Linked DNA regions of Homo sapiens: region 2 is linked to region 1. Evidence: promoter capture Hi-C in human tissues and cell types (Jung and others, 2019). All regions are on one chromosome and are shown on one strand. Each heading gives the region's core, a stretch centred on a gene start or on the middle of the fragment in contact. The rest is flanking DNA. Distances are from core to core; before and after follow the strand shown.

Region 1 (3,351 bases), core at 458-2,957:
TGTATTTTTAGTAGAGACGGGGTTTCACCATGTTGGTCAGCTGGTCTCGAACTCCTGACCTCAGGTGCTCTACCCACCTCGGCCTCCCAAAATTCTGGGATTACAGGTGTGAGCCACCATGACTGGCTGGACCTAGAGACTATTTTCTAAGTAGCAATAGACTTCGTAAAAGTGATGGGATGTCACTTCTGGGATTAGGTTTCAAAAAAGGACTGTGATCTCACTCTCATTTTCTTTTTCTGTCTCTTCCTCTTTCTCCTCCCTCTCCCTGGGGTAAGCCTGCCGCTTCTTACCAAGAGGTGCAAGTGGACAGGAAATGATGTCTCCAGCCAACAGCCAGAGAGGACCTCAGGCCTGCCAGCAGCAGTGGAAGTGAGTTTGAAAGAGGATTCTGAAGCCTTGAGAGAGCTGCAGCCCTGGCTGACAGCTTGATTGTATCCTCATGAGAGCCTGAGCCAGAGGACACAGCTAACCTCACCCAGATTCCTAGCCCGTGGAAACTGTGAGGGAAAAAAAAGTTTATTGTTTATTAACTGCTAAATTTGGGGTGATTTTTACCCAACAATAGATAACGAATACAAGGATATTGCTTATTATTCAAAATCACTATATAAAGCCCCTGAAAAATTGAAAGCTGCAACCAGGGAAACACTGAAAATCTCCAAGAACCCTGTGTTTCTTCTTAAAGACAGTGAGAAAAAGCACATACATCTGTTTTCCTTTTAGTTTTGGCCACCAGGAAGCTCAGAGCCAAATTTATGATGCAATTTTAATAACTATGTAAGCCCCTATGGCCTGCTTATCTGTGTTCTTATTCCTGGCCTTTCATTTTATTCTGACTTTTCTTTTTCTTCGTCCTGATTGTATTAGCTCATCTTTATTTTTCTATATTATATGAGTTATGGTAAGCAACTTCAAATTCAGCTTACGGAAAAGCAAGGCATTCGTAAATCTCTCTTTTTTTTTTTGAGACTCTTACTCTATCGCCCAGGCTGGAGTGCAGTGGCACGATCTTGGCTCACTGCAACCTCCACCTCCCGGGTTCCGGCAATTCTCATGCCTCAGTCTCCCGAGTAGCTGGGATTACAGGCGCCCACCACGACACCGGGCTAATTTGTTTTTGTTTGTTTTTTGTATTTTTAGTAGAGACGCGGTTACGCCATGTAGGCCAGGCTGGTCTCGAACTCCTGACCTCAAGTGATCCACCTGCCTCGGCCTCCCAAAGTGTTGGGATTACGGGTGTAAGCCACTGTACCCGGTCCATAAATCATTTTTTAAAAATAGTTTTTAAATTTAAAACATAGTTTTGCACATTAAAAAAAAAGTTTTGCACAGGTCTAACCGAAGGTGGTGGTGGGAAGATCAGGTCATAGGTGTGGGTCTCTGGAGCTCCAAGCATTGGCCAGGGTTGATTTGGATTGGGTCAGAAATATACAACGAAAAAGGGAAAAAGGATGGCAATTGATTGCCATCCCCAGAGGGAGGGGCCGAGGGTTCGCCCAGTCACCCACAGTGGCATCCTTGCAATGTGCTAGTTAGACCGCTCCTTTAAGTCCCTCCCGCACTGGCCCGCTCGGCCCCGCCCCTCTCTGGCTCCGCCCCTCCCCACCCCTGCCCCGCCCATCCCCACCCCTGCCCCACCCCTTTCTCCCCCGGGCTCCACCCCTCGCGCGCGACCGGCCGCGCGGCGCAGCGCCACGCCGCCTCAGTCTCCGCCCGCCGATCCGGCCTCTTCGGCCGTTGCGCACTCCACCCCCTCCCTCCGCGCCCGCGCGCGCCTTCCCCGCCCCGTCCGCCTCACTCCTTTTGGGGCGGTTGGGCCGCGCGCCTGTGGGGGCGGGGCCCGGAGCAGGCCACCGAGCCAATGGGGCGCGGCGGCGGCGGCGGCGGTGGTGGCGGCGGCGGCGGAGGCGGCGGTGGCGGCGGTGGCGGCTGGGTCGGGCCCCGACGGGCGGCGGCGGCTGAGGTGGAGGCGGAGGGAGGCGGCGGCGGCGGCGGCGGGAAGATGGCGGCTCCCGTCCTGCTAAGAGTGTCGGTGCCGCGGTGGGAGCGGGTGGCCCGGTATGCAGTGTGCGCTGCCGGAATCCTGCTCTCCATCTACGCCTACCACGTGGAGCGGGAGAAGGAGCGGGACCCCGAGCACCGGGCCCTCTGCGACCTGGGGCCCTGGGTGAAGTGCTCCGCCGCCCTTGCCTCCAGGTAGCCGGCTTGGGGGAGTGGGCCAGGAGCGGCCGAGCGGGGCGAGGGTGGAGTCTCGGGGTGGGGAGCGCGCGGCGGGAGCTCAGGCCTGGGGGCGGCGGGGACCGGGCCGCTGGGGAACTGACGGGGTCGGGTCGGGGCCAGGCGGGGGGCGGCGGCGGGGCGCTCCTGCCCGGGGGGCGGCCTGAGCCCAGGCCGCGGGGCGGAGGTGGCGGGGCCGCGAGGCAGCCGGGGAGGGATGAGGTGGCAGAGTGCAGCCGGGAGGCCGGGGCGGACGCGGAGCGGTCGGGCGGGCTGGGGCCCGGCTGTGCAGGAGCGCGAGGGGGCTGCGGAGGGTGGGTCCAGGCTGGCTTGACAGGTTTCCTGGTTCTCGGGAGGCGGGCCGGGGGTGTGGGACCTTGTCCACCGCACCCTTGAGACCAGCGGCAACCTCTTGTCCCCCCGATCGCTGCAGCCGAGGCTTTGGGGCCGGCGCGGAGACAGGGGGGTTGCCTTTCCCACTGTCTTCCTGGTGCTAGGACAGGTGTTTCCGTGGTCAGGCCTCTTTGTACTCCAGCGCTAGTGAGAATTTGCAGACTTAACTGGGACGGTGACATTTGCTGGCAAACACGAATTTGACCCTACTGTGGAAGAAGATACCCGCACTTAACATATCTGATTTCTTGGATTCCCTCTCGTATGTTTCAGTGTGCCAGGAGAAGGAAATGGTCTGAGTTTGGGTCTAGTTTAAGCTTCATTGGAGTAAAGGACAAGTATGTTATGTATATGGTGGTGTTTTAGGCATTGGAATGACTTTTAAACGTTGTTGCCTATTAGCATATTCGAGACCAGCATATTGGTCAGGCTGGTCTCGAACTCCTGACCTCAGGTAATCCACCCACCTCTGCCTTCCAAAGTGCTGGGAATCAAGCATGAGCCACCGCGCCTGGCCTGCTTAAGTGCTTAAAATTGACTTTTCTTGGCCGGGCACAGTGGCTCACGCCTGTAATCCCAGCACTTTGGGAGGCCGAGGCGGGTGGATCATGAGGTCAGGAGTTCAAGACCAGCCTGGCCAACATGGTGAAACCCCGTCTCTACCAAAAATACAAAAATTAGCTGGGTGTGGTGGCATGTGCCTATAGTCCCAGCTACTCGGGAGGCTGAGGCAGGAGA
Region 2 (3,433 bases), core at 117-2,616, 120 kb before region 1:
GTCAGATACTTATTTATACAAATTGATGTGTTAATACTAGCGGAGGCCATACAGTAGGATTAGGGGGCTTAAATCTGGGTCTTTGTCTTGGTCTAAAACAAATTTGTTGTGAGCTTGGACAGGTTATGGAACCTTTTTTGGCCTGAAAATAATTTTGTAATCAAGTTGAATTGCCTATGTGATTTGTATCTGTCTTTAGATTAATAATTGAGATTTTAAAATGGGATGTTTAGGACTAGGCATATTTATTTGTTAGGAAAGAGACAACCAAAAGCTTACATTTAGATAAATTCCACTTTTTTAGCCCTGACTAGTTCCAAGGTTTAAAACAAACCTCAGTGACTACGAATCTATTGTCAGAATTTTCGGGTAAAAGAGAGCAGATAGTCTTTATTTATTTTTATTAGTAAATGATGGAATTAGTTTGAGATTACCTATAGAAAAGATAGAATAATGCTACCATCTGTGAGTTGTTGGGACACAGTGTCGGTTTTGACATGATTCGGAGTGGTTTGCACAGTGAACACCCAAGTGTGCTTTATAGTTCCCTTGGCTTTGACCCTGTGCTAGAGCATTGCCTGCTCTTCTCCTCTGCATTAAAAGGAATATTTATCCTTTTAAATGTATTCAGAAAGCCAGCACATTATATTACCTCGTGTTCAAAGATAGGATGATCAGAGTATCCCTCCAAGAATTGTCTGAACTTTATCATGAACTATAGTTGCACCTAATTGAAGATGCAAGTGTTATTGTGTGTTTATTGTAGGGCCTTCATCCCAGAATAATCACTGAAGGATTTGAAGCTGTGAAGGAAAAGCCCTTCATTTTTTGGAAGAAGTCAAAGTAAGCAGAGAGATGGACAAGGAAACACTTAAAGATGTGGCCAGGGCATCTCTTTGTACTAAAGTTCATGCTGAACTTGCAGATGTCTTAACAGAGGTATGTATTAAATTTTGTCTGTGTCTGGTATGGTACACCTATGTAGAAAATCTCTGATAGTAGAAACATGAATATAATTACCAATTTCAATCACAAGGTGCTATGTAGGTTCATTTTTGTGGCAGTGATACCTAATCTGTGTCTCTAAAAAGTAAAATGAGGAAATTCAAATAATAGTATACCTAACCGGGTTTTAAAAGTAAAATTGGAGCTTTCATTAAAAGGTTTATAAAGTGGAGATTTTGTTATTAGAAAGCTTCCAGTTATCAGTATTTTTAATGAAACACCAGGAGGAATGTTAATGTTAAGGAATGTTAATGTTTGAGAATTACAGATTGAGATTTCAGAAATGTAACAGCTGTTCATATATAATGTATTCTATCTGCTTATAGAAAAATACAAATCAGTGTAGAGATTGTAAAATGAAGAAACTGTCTACTTTAGCCTTCTGAAAAGCAACATGTTTCTGCTGCTGCAAATTGAATTTACTTAATGGTTATCCTTCTCCTATTGCAGGCTGTAGTGGGCTCCATTTTGGCCATTAAAAGAAAAGATGAACCTATTGATCTCTTCATGATTTTGTGATCATTGACAAGAAACATAAATCTGAAACTGATACAAGGTAGGTGGTAGAAGACTATGAAATACTAATGGTCGGGCCTGGTGGCTCAGGCATGTAATCCCAGCACTTTGGGAAGCCGAGGTGGGTAGATCACCTGAGGTCAGGAGTTCGAGACCACCCTGGCCAACATGGGGAAACCCCGTCTCTACTAAAATTACAAAAATTAGCCAGGCATGGTGGCGGGCTCATGTAATCCCAGCTACTTGGGAGGCTGAGGCAGAAGAATTGCTTGAAACTGGGAGGCGGAGGTTGCAGTGAGCCAAGACCACACCATTGCACTCCAGCCTGGGTGATAAGAGCAAAACTCCATCTCAAAAAAAAAAAAAAAAGAAACTAATAAAGTGTGTTTTGAAATTTAGGGGTGCTTTGTACAATATATATTGTTGGCAAAATTTTTAATATATTTGGATATAAAATATTGTATATTTACCTGAAGATATCAGTTGGATAAATTGCTAGGTAAAGATATAAGTTGGATAAATTGCTAGGTGAAGATTGTTTTTACTTTTAGTAATATTTTCTCCTGAAATAAGGTGAATGTTATGTTGTATTTATGGGTAGAATTATTCCGAAAGGTGAACAACATCAGTCATTTGGCGTTTATTGAATTGCTAGGTACAAAGCATAATGAGAAGCAGTAGAGGAATTAAAAAAATTTTTTTTTCTAAAGACTTAGTTAGAAAACATGTATATGTTCATTTTTCCTTTCTTTTTATGGAGAATGGAGTCTCCTTATGTTGCATAGCCTGGTTTTGAATTCCTGGGATTAAGGTGTCCTCTCACCTCTGCCTCCCCAAGTGCTGGCATTACAGGCACTTGGCAGAAAACATGTTTTTAAAAGATATCATCACAGTTTGACAGCCTACCAGGGAGACTATCTCTGCAGACTTTTCTGTACAGCATAGGATCTTCAAGTAATTCAAGAAACAACGCTGACTGCATGAAAATTATCAGTGCCTTCTCAGTTCGGTGTTTAACGTACACCCATCTGGAAATCAATAACCATAATTTTGTGTATGTTTGAACAGCTTAATCAGAGGGCTTGTTTTGGACCATGGAGCATAGCATCTTGATAGGAAGAAAAGGGTGGAGGATGCATATATCCTCATTTGTAACGTGTCATTAGAATATGAAAAAACTTAAGTTTATAGCCCCTTAACTTAAATGGAGGAGCTTCGTGTTTTAGGTGAGTTACTTTTTTGTGAAACTTCGTTTCCCACTGTAAGGACAATAATCCTCAAATTGGTTTGGGAGAGTTATAGGAAACAGCCTCTGAAGATGTGCAAGGGGCAGGATTGGAGCTCAGTGAGCTGTTTGTTAAATCTTAGGACTAATCCAGTTTCAGAAGCTATTTTCTCAAAAAATAAATGTTTCCCTGCTTTCTGTAACTTTTTTTTTTTCTTAATAGAGAAGTGAATTCTGGCGTTTTTTACAAGAGTGCAGAAAGAGAAAAACTCATAAAAGCTGAAAGAAAATTCATTGAAGATAGAGTTAAAACAAATAATAGAACTGAAAAGGAAAGTCTGTAGTAATTCAGATAAAGGATTTGTTATTAATCAAAAGGTGAGAATGAAAATCCAGTGTATAAACTAAATAGTATGTATCATCCTTTTTACTTTTAAGGTGAAAGATGTTGAAACTAATTTTTATTTTTGTTATAGGGAATTGACCCCTTTTCCTTAGATGCTCTTTCAAAGAAGGCATAGTCGCTCTTCACAGAGCTAAAAGGAGGAATATGGAGAGGTATGAGTAGCAGATTTATCTGAGTAATTTGACTTTTACTTATTTTGCAAATGAATTGGGATTATTTTTCCTTATACTTTATTTTTGGGTTTTCAACTGTACAATTAATTGGCATTAACTATATTCGCA

The links. Contacts are between HindIII fragments. The study calls those that stand out against the background at their distance.
Region 2: a contact is called between a fragment that was not itself captured here and the fragment with the promoter of VKORC1L1 in region 1, in 3 of the 25 tissues and cell types used here (dorsolateral prefrontal cortex, hippocampus and mesenchymal stem cells).

The regions. Positions count from the first base shown.
Region 1 is chr7:65,871,367-65,874,717 of GRCh38, forward strand. It overlaps VKORC1L1 (vitamin K epoxide reductase complex subunit 1L1), which reads left to right and starts at 1,708. Exons shown (of 3, transcript NM_173517.6): 1 at 1,708-2,199. The coding sequence starts at 2,006. RefSeq lists silencers at 1,400-1,459, 1,480-1,979, 1,693-1,872, 2,420-2,489 and enhancers at 1,555-2,106, 2,658-3,209. The HindIII fragment of the contact is 24,487 bases long and covers 1-3,351 here.
Region 2 is chr7:65,755,014-65,758,446 of GRCh38, forward strand. The region is part of intron 2 of LINC03006 (long intergenic non-protein coding RNA 3006); the gene reads right to left. It overlaps SNORA22 (small nucleolar RNA, H/ACA box 22), which reads left to right and starts at 513; the gene lies at 513-646. It also overlaps the pseudogene CCT6P1. The HindIII fragment of the contact is 6,285 bases long and covers 1-3,433 here.